Linked DNA regions of Homo sapiens: region 2 is linked to region 1. The links are contacts of gene promoters, found by promoter capture Hi-C in human tissues and cell types (Jung and others, 2019). All regions are on one chromosome and are shown on one strand. Each heading gives the region's core, a stretch centred on a gene start or on the middle of the fragment in contact. The rest is flanking DNA. Distances are from core to core; before and after follow the strand shown. Region 1 holds the start of RIMS3 (regulating synaptic membrane exocytosis 3). Region 2 overlaps NFYC (nuclear transcription factor Y subunit gamma).

What was found. Contacts are between HindIII fragments. The study calls those that stand out against the background at their distance.
Region 2: a fragment that was not itself captured here is called in contact with the fragment with the promoter of RIMS3 in region 1 in 1 of the 25 tissues and cell types used here (pancreas).

Annotation. Positions count from the first base shown.
Region 1 is chr1:40,662,301-40,669,139 of GRCh38, forward strand. RIMS3 (regulating synaptic membrane exocytosis 3) reads right to left here and starts at 3,382. Exons shown (of 8, transcript NM_014747.3): 1 at 3,094-3,382. It overlaps LOC105378675 (a long non-coding RNA gene), which reads left to right. Exons shown (of 2, transcript XR_947238.3): 2 at 3,688-5,376. RefSeq lists enhancers at 993-1,650, 6,611-6,760, 6,821-6,839 and a silencer at 3,098-3,527. The HindIII fragment of the contact is 12,473 bases long and covers 1-4,170 here.
Region 2 is chr1:40,719,010-40,725,848 of GRCh38, forward strand. The region is part of intron 1 of NFYC (nuclear transcription factor Y subunit gamma); the gene reads left to right. Among named protein-coding and RNA genes, the nearest start is that of NFYC-AS1, 30 kb to the left of the region's middle. The HindIII fragment of the contact is 5,530 bases long and covers 1,311-6,839 here.

The DNA.
Region 1 (6,839 bases), core at 2,132-4,631:
CTTCGCCTCTACAATTCCTTGGCACCCTTCATGACTCAGCTAAGATGTCGCCACCTCCAGGAACCTTTCCCAGATTACAGACTGCAGGAGAGCAACTTCAGTGATAGGTTCCAGAGCCCAAGTCCCTCCTTTCTACACACATGCCATGTGTAATTACCTGCTCTGGGTCATGTCCCCACTAGAATGTCACCTCCGTGAGGGCAGGGGCCGCCTGGCTCATAGAGTCTGATACATCAGAGGTACCTGGTGGACTGAATGCATCCTTCTGCCACAGAGGCAAGAGGGCCAGGCATTCTTTCTCCTTTTTTCTTCACTCCTCCCGGACCCTCCTTTTCTTGTCCAGGCTTCTTGAGCTCAAGCTATGAAAAGCCCAAACTTGCAAAGGGAAGAGAACCATCATACAGTATGCACCCTCCCCCTGCCAGCTCTAGACTAGGTACTATACATCTGGTTACTACAGTTAATTCCCTAACCACATTCCAGATGGGGTGGAGAAGTATGGGTATAAATTATTCCTATTTTCCAGAGGAGACTGAGACTTGGTAGTTGAGGCCACCTGCCTGAAGTGGTAACAGGTTGGAAGCGGAAGGCATTAGATTTGAATCCTGTCTGTCTGATGCCCAAGTGCCTGGTCTCTTCTCTGCCCCAAACCACACAACCCCTGTGACTCACCATTCCCAGCAAGCTCACCTCCAACCAGAGAGCACTTGTTTCTAACCTCCGCCTTCAGTTCACACACACCCCAGCTGGTAAAGCTCTTCTGTGAGGTCAGTGATATACCAGTGTAGGAGACAGCCCCACTGTCAGTGAGGACAGTGTAGAAGTCACTCCTCCCCTGGGTCAACAAAATGCCAGTGTGGGAGAAACACCCCCATCGTCAGCAAAATGCCAGTACAGGAGACGCACCCTGCACCCCAAGTCAGCAGATTGCTAACAGGAGAGACAGTGCCACAGTCAGCAAAAGGCCAATGTGAGAGACACTTCCCTCCTCTTCTGGGGCCCATGACATTGACTGGGGGGTACACACAGAGACCTCTCCAAGGTGGTGCCCCTGGAGTGGGAGGAGGCACTGAGGCAGCTGTTGCCTGGGGGAGAAGGTTGTGGCTGGGGAGTGGGGCAGGTGAGAGTTCTCACATGGCACTAATGAAATCAACCACCAGCCTGCTCCCCCCTCCCCAGGGACCCTCCAGGCTCCAGCTGATGCAATGCCCAGGCCAGATAATTGTTTTCTTCCCTCCTTAAAGGGCCAGCTGCTACTGCAGCTGCAGACATCACCCAGACCCCTGACAGACCCCACAGAGCTCAGCACCTGGGCAGGAAGTTGGGAAGCCCAGAGAGTAGCAGCTTTAGGCCTGGGTTCTGCGCAGTAAAATCCAATTAAAGTCCAGAGACCAGAAGCGTCGTTGAGCAAGGAGGGAGGGAGAGAGAATAGTTAAGACAGTGACACAGACCACATGCCCTGGGAGAAGGGACCGTGGTCCCTGCTGGGTCCTCAGCACCTGGCTCCTGCACGCCCGCCCAGCAAGTACTTGGCACAGGGGTTGCTCATGAGTTCAGCAGTTAGCTGCTGAGCCCTCCTGAGTGCCAGGCACTGTGCTGCGCAGCTCAAATCCACCATTTCACTCACTCCTTCCTGCTACCCACATAGCAGCTGGGTTTGTTTTACTGAAAGAGTCTCAGAGAGGGGAAGTGATTTCCTCAATATCACACAGCCAGAAAGTGGCAGAGCTTGGGTTTGAAGCCAAGTTTAACCAACTCTGGGCTTCATACCCTGCAAAGGGTCGGATAAGTGTAGAACCCCAGGGCTGGAAGTCCCTAAGCAAGGCAGTCAGGAACAGAAGGCAGGGAAGGGGTCTGTGGGCCCTAAACAAACAACAAAGGGCATGGTGCTTGGTTTAAGCACAGGGCACATGGGTCACCTCCCCAGCACATCCCTGCCAACCCACCCACCCCGCCTCCCAACCAAGAATGCCCCATTAGGCTACCCACATGCCCCCAGGGACAGTTGGCAGCTGCCTGATTACAGACTAATTGGTGGCTGGCAGCAACTATGGTGGGGTGGGGGAGATGGCTCATTAACCCCTTGTTGACCAGGCCCAATCCTCCTCCCATGACTTCAGGCCCCAAACCCAAGGAACCCAGACTTAAGAAGTCATCATGGATAGAGGACAGGACCAAAGGAGCAGCAGCCTTCTTCCCTACATCCTGATAACACCCCTGGGGCTAGGGTTGGACACATATTCACCCAGGTGTCCAAGCCCTGAAGGACCACATTGAAACAGGCCCCAAGTGGCAGTGCCAGCCAATGCCCCCTGTTCTCCAGCCTTGATATGCCATTGCCCACCCCATTCCAGGATCCTTCCTGAGCCTTCAGGACCAGGACACTGAAGAAACCCACTCCTCAGGGCTGAGTTGTCCAGAGGTGATGGGGACATGGAGTCCAGGTACCCAGGCGGCCAGTCAGGGAAGAGCTCCTCCCTATGAATGAGAGCATGCCCAAGTTGCCCATCAAGGGTCCTGCCAAGCCTCCCTGAACCCTGGGCTCTGCACCATGCTGCTGACCAACTGCATTCCCAGCTTCCCAAAGCCCCCTCTTCCCACCCCAGGGCTGGAGTAAGCAGCACTCCTTTTCTTTTATGGGGTGGAGGGGGTCCTCTGGACACCACAACGGTGTCACGTTGAGGAAAAAGTGGCTGCTTCTCAACCAGGGCACAGGCAGAAGGGAGAAAAGCAGGCTGCCTTCCAGCTCCCTTTCCAGGAGGGATTTTAAGCACTTTCCAAAAATGCCATGCCAGGCAATGCTGTTGAAGACCAGGGCCCCAGGAGCTCTGAGCATCAGCAAAGAACTCAAGACTCTGGGCCCCCTTCCCCATTTTCCAGGCTTCCCCAAACACCCCACGTCCCTCTCTCATCCCTTAGTCCCCTCCCCAGAGCCCTCTCACACCCTGTGTTCATCCCCCCACCCCCGCCCCTGCACACTCACATACCTACGTTGCGCTTCATGGCCAGAGCCCCCCTCCCCCCGTGGTCCTCCAGACCTCTGCAGCCCCCTCCCCACGTCCACTCCCAGGCGAGCAAGGCCTGCTGACTTACCCGGAGGTGGGGCCGGGGTCCAGACAGGGAGGGGGCCTCCACAGGCCGAGGCGGCTCCGCAAGGCGGGGCAGGTGCTGCCCCGGGACCCCGCCCCGCGAACCCGGCAGTAGGCGCGGCCCGGCCCCAGGCTGGCGCGGACTCCGAGTGGATAGGCACGCGGGGCGGGGAGGGGCGGCGAGGGAGGCTCACGGGGGCATCGCCCGCCACCACGGGGGCAGCTCCGCTCCGCCCGCCTGCGCTGCCGGCTCCGCAGCAGCCACCGTTTTCAGTCGCCGCCGGGTGCAAAGCCCAAGCTTGGGCCGGCGGGAGGCGAAGGGGAGGCGGGGCCTGCCGGGGGCGGGGCCGCGTGGATGGGCGGGGCCAGTGGGCCGGACCTTGGTGGTGGGCGGGGCCTAGGGGAATCCGGGGAGTTTGGCTTGCCGGGTTGTGGTTGGGGGACCTACATTAATGAGGCTTCCAAGAAGCGGGGTCTGGGGAAGCCTCATTCCTCTCCGTGTCCCTAGGACTCTCTTGCCTCCTGCCCGGCCTCCCCTCTCCACCACCTACCCTATCTGTTCTTTCTCATCCTTCCTTTTCTTTGGGGCACCTCCCAGGACCTCACAGGCACCACGGCGCCCCCTGCCCTGCCCTGCCCTGAAGCAGTTCCAGGAACGTCAGATGGTAAGAGAAGAAACGACTTACAAACGTCAAGTCCATTTTACAGATGGAAAATCTGAAGCTCAGATAGGAGAAAAGACTTGCCCAAGTGCCTGGTATGAAGAGAAAGACTTTATAATGTCCCTTTCAGACAGAAGGAAGTAGAGTGGCCGGCCCTGAAGCCCAAGTTAACCTGCTTCCCCTGCGCTCTCTACTTCTAGAGCAATGGTTTTAAACTTGGGGCGATTTTGCCCCCCAGGGAACATTCGACCATGTCTGGAGACATTTTTGGTTTTCCCAACGAGGAGGTTGCTACTGGCGTCTCATGAGAAGAGACCAGGGATGCTGCTACACGCCTTCAATGCACAGGACAGCCCCTGCGCCAGAGAATTGTCAGGCCCGAAATGTCAGCAGGTTTCTGAGGTTGAGAAACTCTGTTCTAGGGCCTGGCATCTGCCTATATAAACTTCCAAATAGACTCCTGGAGTCCTGGGTTCTTCTGCAGCCCGGGAGGATACTGTATGAAGTCTTTCCTAGGGTCGTGCCTGCCCCAACTTGTATATTTAACCTTGCTTAGGACTGGTCAGTTCCACTCTTGGGCTCCAGTGTTTTGAATTCCACCCACTGACAGAGAGGACAGAATAATTAATATTTGCTGGAGGCATGTAAAACCAGTAGTCTCCCTGCTGAGGGCATGAATTAAAATGTAAATGGGAGCTGGGTGCGGTGGCTCATGCCTGTACCAGTGTTTTGGGAGGCCAAGGTGGGTGGATTGCTTGAGGCTGGGAGTTCGAGATCAACCTGGCCAACATGGTGAAACCCCATCTCTACTAAAAATACAAAAATTAGCCAGGTGTGGTGGCACACAACTATAGTCCCAGCTACTCGGGAGGCTGAGGTACGAGAATCACTTGAACCCAGGAGGCGGAGGTTGCAGTGAGCCGAGGTCGCACCACTGCACTCCAGCCTGAGTGACAGGGGGAACTCTGTCTCAAAAAAAAGTAAATGGGGAGTGGGAAGGTGGGGAGAAAAAGGAAAATTATTGGGATTAAAGGATCCTCCTGGGGATTGCTAGGAGGCATAGTCATCCTACGCCTTCCCTTCTCACCTGGTCTGTGAGAAGCATAAACTGAGGCCCTACAATGTGAAAAGCCTCAAAGTGCGTTCCATAGCTGGTCAGAGGTGGAGCTGGGGCTCCTGATTATATTTACATATTAATTAAAGCTTTGTTATCAGCTATTCTACCTCAGGCCTAGGCCTGGACTAGGGCCTGGGTGGTAGAATGGGTTACTCTGGAGCAGCAAGGGGGACTAGATTAGGGGAGGTGGGATGGAGGCCAGGGCAGGACCTGGAACGAGGGTGGAGGTGAGGGGTGGGAGCACAGAGAGGAATCAGGCTTCCTGTGTGCTCCTCCCTGGCCCCTTTCACAGAGACAGGTAAACCAGGGGTTCCCTTTGCACATCTGATGAAAACTTAGCACTATCTCTCTGGAGATGTGCAATGTATATTTTGCATATAATTTCAGTATCTTCAAAGTTCTATATTGGTTACCAGAAGGACTGGATGGGAGGTGGGTGGAGAGGGGGTTGATTCTTAAGTGTATATAGAAGAATAAACATACAGGAATAAAAAGTCCAGGAAGAAAAGTAATGAAAAGGGATTTGTCTTACCCGATACTAAAACATACTATAAAGTCAATGTATTTAAAGCAGTATGGTATTGAAGCAGGACTAGACCGATCTGTGGAACAAAATGGAGTATGGAAATGGATCCAGCCCCACAAGGGAATTCAATGTATGATAAAGATAGCACTTCAGGCCCGGCACAGTGGCTCATGCCAGTAATCCCAAAACTTTGGGAGGTTGAGGCGGGCAGATCACTTGAGACTAGCCTGGGCAACATGGCAAAACTTTGTCTCTATAAAAAAATACAAAACTTGTGGCCGGGGGCGGTGGCTCACACCTGTAATCCCAGCACTTTGGGAGGCCGAGGCAGGCGGATCACAAGATCAAGAGATTGAGACCATCCTAGCCAACATGGTGAAACCCTGTCTCAACTAAAAATACAAAAATTAGCTGGGTGTGGTGGCATGCACCTGTAGTCCCAACTACTTGGGAGACTGAGGCAGGAGAATCGCTTGAACCCAGGAGGCGGAGGTTGCAGTGAACTGAGATCGCACCACTGCACTCCAGCCTGGTAACAGAGCAAGACTCTGTCTCAAAAAAAAAAAAAAAAAAAAAATTTATCTGGGCATGATTGCACACACCTGTAGTCCCAGCTACCAGGGAGGCTGAAGTGGGAGGATTACCTGAGCCTGGGAGGTCAAGGCTGCAGTGAGCTGTGATCACGCCACTGCACTCCAGCCTGGGCAACAGAGCAAGACCTTGTCTCTAAATGAATGAATGAATAAAAGACAGCACTTCAGACAAATGGGGGGCGGAGTTGGTAGGGGGTTGTGGGCGGGGGGGGGGGGGTTGGTGGCGGAGATCAAATGGGTGGAATAACCAGCAAGTCTTTTGGGGAAATTACAAAAAGCTGTGCCCTTATTCGACACTGAAATAAATTCCAGGTGGACCACATATTTAACACCATAATGTATCAGAAAAAAGACATGAGTGAATATTTTAATAATCTTGGAGATGGAAAAGACTTTCTAAGCATGATGAAACCTAGAAGCCATAAGAGAAAACATGGAAATGTTTGACTACAAGGCTTCTATACAGAAGAAATGGCCATAAGTCAGTTTGAAAGACAAATGACAAAACGGAGGGGATATATCCTGGTTGCCCCCTACCCTGTCCCCTCCTGCCCGCCAGCCCCTCCAAGCCGAGACGGGGACGAGCAGGAGGGATGGCTGGGGCTGTGAGAGTCGAGACCGAGCACCTGGCAGAGGCTTCTCCTGCGGCGCTCTGGCCAGCGCCCACATGTTTAGGGGCCGGGAAGTCCCGGAAACCCCAGGCGGGCCATCTGGGTCCTCAGCAGGTGCCTTGGCACAGCCGAGCCGAAGTCCTCCTGGAGGCTGCTCACCACTTCCCTCGCGTGGCCATCCTAAGAACTGCAATCCTCTGTTCCTGCTCAGCCCCTTCTGAGCATCAAGGCGAGAATTTAA
Region 2 (6,839 bases), core at 2,826-5,325, 57 kb after region 1:
TACAGATGTGCGCCACCACGCCCAGCTAATTTTTGTATTTTTAGTAGAGACGGGGTTTCACCATGTTGGCCAGATGGTCTTGATCTTATGACCTCGTGATCTGCCCGCCTCAGCCTCCCAAAGTGCTGGGATTACAGGCGTGAGCCACGGCGCCTGGCCCATGGTGTTCTTAAATAATCCGTTGCTTTAAATTTCCTAGCTATGATTTATAATCCTTGCTTACCCCTAGTGAGGTGGAACAAAGGAATTCTGATTTCTTGGAGGAATGGCTGGATAATTAAAATAACATTATCACCATGTTCACAATGTAGCGATAGCTATAATTTTGAAACACTGCATAGAATTTAGCCAGGTGATTCCTCCTATAAGTGGGCAGCTATGAAAACATCTCCAATATAGGAGGCTGGGCTAAGGCTCTTCTTCTGAATTATAGAGAAAGGATAGAGTGACTTCCCATCACCAGGCCCCCAGAAAGTGAACTTGATCCTTTCTATCTCCACTTTTGTTTGGTAGCTAGATGGCCTAGTCCCACTCCTTTGATGCAACTGCAGTTTAGCAAGCTTGAAAACCTTAAGCTTTCTTGTTTAAGCTTTCTACTTTGAAATGTTTAAGAATCTGGTATCTTGATTTTTTTGGAGTACTTTTTTCAGGAGAGTGATCAGGAAAACGAAAGGTAAAAAGGCCTGGTGGATTTGTGTTCCAGGCTGAGAAAAGCTATAGGTTCTTAAGTTTTGTGTTTTCTGTTGTTATCAATTCTAAAGTAGAAGGAGAAGATTTAATGAAAGAGCACAGAACTGAGAATCAGAAGACATGAATTTTAATTTCACCTGTGGCATATACTTGTCCTGGTGAATTCTGCCAAGTTCCTCAGTCCACCTGGATAAAGTATCTTTATCTGTCAGATGTGTTGCTTATCTTATGTGTTTATGGTGAGAAACACATAAAATAACATGAAACTACTTTAAGAAGTGTAAAGTATGTACAAATGTAAGGGATTAGCATAACTATCTCAGTCACTTTGCCCTCTTTGAAGAGGTCTTTATGTTCTCAGTTCCTGACAGCTGTATACATGAAGTTAAGAGATTTATGGTTTGGTTGGCTTGGAAGATTTGTCTCATTTCATGTCGTTTTCCTTTCTTTCTTCTCCTCTTTTAAACATTTAAATCAATAAAAGACACTAAACAGAGGGAAGAATTCACAGTGTATCTGAATGAGCAGAATCTAGACAGCAGAATCAATACAGCCAAGCTCATATTGACATTATTATAACGCCCTCTAGGTTTTTAATTGACAATTTTCTGCCTTCCCCTGTCCCACCACCCCCCTGGTTTTTAGATGTATTAAGTCACCAGCACAATCTCCCATTTTTCAGTGGAGCCGATGATTAGATAATTGTCTACATTTTCCAAAGTAGAACAAGTTTTTCTCCAACCCCACTCTTGTGGCTCTTCCATTGGATTACTGCACAAAGGTTACTGCACAACTGAGCACAGATACTTAAGAAGGAATTTTCCCATTTCAAAGAAAAGTACCTAGAATGAGGCCAAGGATACTTGGGGTCTTAAAATAGTTCTTGTCCAGGCATGGTGGCTCACATCTGTAATCCCAGCACTTTGGCAGGCCAAAGTGAGAGGATCACTTGAGCCCAGGAGTTTGAGACCAGCCTGGGCAAGATAGCAAGACCCTGTCTTTACAAAAAATTTTAAAAATTAGCCAGGTATGGTGGCAAGCACCTGTAGTCCCCGCTACTCAGGAGGCTGAGCAGGGGAGGATCACTTGAACCCAGGAGGTTGAGGCTTCAGTGAGCCATGATTACGCCACTGCACTCCAGCGTGGGCAACAGAGCAAGACACTGTTATTTAAAAAAAATTTTTTTTTAAGTTCTTGAGGAACCTGTGTTTGTTCATTCAGTAGATGTGTATTGAATCCCCACTATGTGCAAGGCATATTTGCCTTGAGGGTGTATCAGAAACAAAATGATTATGTTTGTCTTACAAACGGGGGAAAAAATAGGAGCATGAAAAATTTAAGCTTAAAAAATAATATGCCCCCTAAAAAAAGAGAACATGTTACACAAGTCTGAAGCAAGTGAATATGCTAATTAGAGAAATAGATTTGATTGTGTGCCAGGAATGGTTTCTTGGGGAGAAAAAAAATTTATCATCACTGATTAGTGAATGTGTAGACAGTGTTTAATTTCTTTACATTTGTACTGTAAAGGCAAGCTTCTTATCAATGCTATTGCAGAAGAGCCTTAAACATTGGTTTCAACCCATGAGATAGTCTGAGAAATTCCAACTTTCCAGAACATGTTTCCTTCATGTTCACTTCAGGATGTTGGATATAGATGGAAGTGGGTGGAGCTCTCTTTAGAGCTCCAAACAGAATCTTTTGCTTGGATGGTGGGGCCAGGTTGAGTGGGGAGCTGCCTGGACTCCAGGTTTCCTCTACCCTCTAACATAAACAAGATTCCTTTCACAAGACAAAACAGGCACGTACTCCTAGCTTGTGGAAGTCTTAGGTATCCAAGGAGATGGTGGTGGTTGTGGGTTTTTTTGGGGTTTTTTTTTGATACAGGGTCTCACTCTGTTGCCAGGCTGAAGTGCAGTAGTGCAATCATGGCTCATTGCAGTCTCCCAGCTCCTCGGCTCAAGTGATCCTCCTGCCCCAGCCTCCTGAGTAGCGGGAGCTACAGGTGCGTGCCACCACACAGGCTAATTTTTTTTTCTTTTTTGTAGAGACGAGGTCTTTCTATGTTTCCCAGGCTGATCTTGAACTCCTGGGCTCAAGCGATCCTCCTGCTTTGGCTTCCCAAAGTGCTGAGATTACAGGCATGAGCCACCGTTCCCAGCCCAAGGAGACATATTCTAAGAATTGAAGGCCGGGCGCGGTGGCTCATGCCTGTAATCCCAGCACTTTGGGAGGCCAAGGTGGGCGGATCAGGAGGTCAGGAGATGGAGACCATCCTGGCTAACACGGTGAAACCCTGTCTCTACTAAAAATACAAAAAAGTTAGCCAGGCGTGGTGGTGGGCACCTGTGGTCCCAGCTACTTGGGAGGCTGAGGCAGGAGAATGGTGTGGACCCGGGAGGCGAAGCTTGCAGTGAGCCAAGATCATGCTACTGCATTCCAGCCTGGGTGACAGAGTGAGATTCCATCCCAAAAAATATATATAAATAAATAATTAATTTAAAAAAAGAATTTAAATGTTTTTGGATTAGTGTGGAGAGAAAACCTAGTATAGCTATTGATCATTGACACACCCAAGGATTTAAATTTGGAACGTTCCCATGTTCAGCTTGAATTCTTTGCTTTTTTGGAACTAGTACATTTGTTCCAAATTTAATAGTTTAAAGGGCTTAAAAATTATTTCATGTTTATAAAAGAGATAGGAGAACATCTTTCTCTATTTTAATATGTATTTCCATGCATCTGAAACTAGGCTTTTTAAAGAAATATGTCAAAAGCAAAGTAAGTCTAAATTATAGAGAAAAAGAAGCTAGTTGGTCTTTAGGCTCGGTACTGTATCTGGGACTCTTCAGACCAGTAGTTGGTGTCTTGTCTAGCTTCAGGCAGCCATGATGATATGATGCCATCTGGCATTTGTATGAAGCTTGCTATTTTTTGAGGCCTTCTAACATGTGTTTTACCATTTGTGTGTTTCAGCTGCTCTGTGGGATGTTGCTTTAGATGAATAGAGAAGTTTCTAAGAAGTTAAGAGATTTGCTCAAGATCACAGTTCGCCAGAGAGCTAAGAACCCCCAGGTCCAATACATTTTATTTATTTATGTATTTACCTCGTGCTTTAGTGCCCCCAACTGTTCGCAGCTGAGTATTCATAGGTGCTGCTAACCTGCCTAGAGACATGCAAAGGGGAAGGATAAAACAGAAAAGAAAAAAGAGTGACAGCTTAAACAGTGCAAAAAGTGGGAAAGAGCAAGTTATAATAAATCAAGACAGAATTTTAGAGCTTTTGCATTTTGACTCATCATTTATTGTATTGTGATCTTGAGCAAGTAATTTGATATTCAACCCTCAACCTTATCTGTAAAATTGGAATAATATTGGTAAATTTATCACTGAGCTAAGTAAGGGTCAATTGAGGATGATGTATGTGGCATGTATTTTATGAACTCTGAAGCCCGTAAGTTGGCATCTATGAAACATTCTTCAGAATCACACTTCTTCCCTCTGCTAGACACACAAACACAGGATACTGCCAGAAACTGGGCAAGAGGCTGTTTGTGAATCTCAGAAGGCACCCGGTAAGAAAATGATGCTTTGTTTTAGAATACAACTTAACTTAGGCTACAGGCACTCTTTCTGTCTCTAGCTCATGTCACAATTCCTTTTCGGGATTGAGGCCTGAAAAACCAGTTACTCACCATTCTTCCTACAAGGATTTATTTACTCGTTAGGCTGGAGGGTCAGAGAGACTAACAGATACTTCTGTGGGGCAGAGGGGGTCTGGCCCAGCTTACTTCTAATTGAGGATGAACAGGTGAGGGAGGCAGGGGAGCTAAGTAACAGTTGTGTGATCTAGGACCAGCTTCTCAACTTCTAGTGTCAGTTTCCCCATCAGTAAATCAGGGATAAATAAAACACCTAACAGTGCTTTAAAACAAGATCAGAATATTATCTGAAACTTTTTCTTTTCTTTTCTTTTTTTTTTGAGACAGGATCTTGCTCTGCTGTTCCTGCTCAGGCTGGAGTGCAGTGGCGCAATCATGGCTCACTGCAGGCTTGACCACCCAGGCTCAAGCAGTCCTCCCGCCTCAGCCTCGTGAGTAGCTGGGACTACAGGTGTGGGCCACTACACCTGGCTAGTTTTTTATTTTTTATTTTCTATTGAGATGGGGGTCTCACTATGTTGCCCAGGCTGATCTCGAGCTCTTGGGTTCAAGTGATCCTCCCGCCTTGGCCTCCCAGAGTGCTAGGATTAGAGGCATGAGCTACCATGCCTGGCTGAACCTTTTTCCTTAAAGGGCCAGATATTTTAGGCTTTGTGGCTGTATGATTTTTGTTGTAACTCTTCAACTCTACTGTTTAGCATGAACAGACAATATAAACTAATTAGGGGCTGGACATGGTGGCTCACGCCTGTAATCCCAGCGTTTTGGGAGGCCGAGGTGGGCAGATCACTTAAGGTCAGGAGTTCAAGACCAACCTGGTCAACATGGTGAAACCCGTCTCTTCAAAAATACAAAAATTAGCTGGGTGTGATGGCGGGTGCCTATAATCCCAGCTGCTTGGGAGGCTGAGGTGGGAGAATCGCTTGAACCCGGGAGGTGGAGGTTGCAGTGAGCCGAGATCGTGCCATTGTACTCCAGCCTGGATGACAGACTGAGGCTCCGTCTAAAAGTAAATGAATAAATAAATAAATAATTAGGGTTGATGTCTTCCAGTGAAACTGTTTCTAAAAACAGGCTGTAGGCCAGATGTGGCCTATGAGCTGTAGTTTTTAGACCCTTGCTTTAGAATACTTCACTAAATACTTGATCCTTTTTCTTCATCATACAAAATACTGATAGTGTTTTATTGCTGTTATATATGCAGAGATGGTTTAAGTTTGAGCATTGAAAGGATGAGTAAGAATGTGTGTGAAGTAAGATGTTACATATCGTTTTCTATTCCACAGAAAAAAGTTTTCAAATGTTCTGTTCATGCCTTCCCGTCACTTTCATTGTTTATACCAGTTGCTGTGCCTTCATTTTTCTCTAGTTGTGCTACAACTATATTATGATCTGGCCCCTGTTTCAAAGATTATATTGTACTAGATACCAAATAGAAAAGTATTTTTGTTTTTGAAGGAAAAGTGGCTCTTCTGCCAGTTTGAAAATGTGTCCTTGTGTACAGATCTTTAAGGAGAGCAGTGTGCAGCCACTTCTAAGCCTAAGTCTTTTAGGAAGCATGGTTTTCCAGTAGGCACTTTGAAAAGCGGCTTCCTCTTAACACAGATATACCTTCAAACGTCAAACTTGGCATTAATCAGAGTTGGGGAAGTAGAGCTATGTTATTCATTCTTGTATTATAGTAGTGAAGACTATTCAGTAGCCTGCCAGTAAATATGACCAGCTGGTACCCAGCTATGTAAGGGTTTAGAATGTAAGTAATAAGGTTTCAGGCACTAAACGTAGTGCCTGAACTTAGTTTCCTGCATGACTATATAAAAACCTTAGATGAGTTTAAATAGAGACTATTGAACCTTCTCTTCTCTCTAGTCACTTTGCCTTCCCTTGTATTCATTCATTTATTGCATCTTCAAGTAGTGAAGTGTAGGACTTCCCCACCAAACCACCAGAGACCCCTTTGGAATGTGTTCAGTATACATCATTGCTGGAGTGGCTTAGTAGAGTGACTGGCCCAGGGCCACCAGCTAGTAGGCAGCAAGCGTCCAGTACACAGACGTAGGTCTTTTAATTTCCAGACCAGTGCTGTTTTTCTTCTTGTGAAATTGTCAATTTTAGATTGGTTTTATTTTGGAGAGTATAAGCCTTCTTAAGAAATGCTTTTTAGCTGTTGTGATCGATAATAGCATAAGTCCTAAGGTCCATCTGTGTAAACATAAAAACCAAATAGTCTGTTAGTAAATAAATCCTACCCCCCTTTCCCTCATCCATCCATTTATTTTTATTAATATTCTTCCTTTCTCTGTATCTCCCATCATCATTTAAAATATAACATCTTACAAACCTTAGCTCATTTAAATGAAGAAACCTAGAACTAACCTCAGTAAATACCTGAGCAGTACTGGTACATAAAATGCTTGTGATAGTGCTGCCACTAGGGCAAAATACAATAAAGCTAACATTATAATAAAGAGAGTCACACAAATTTGT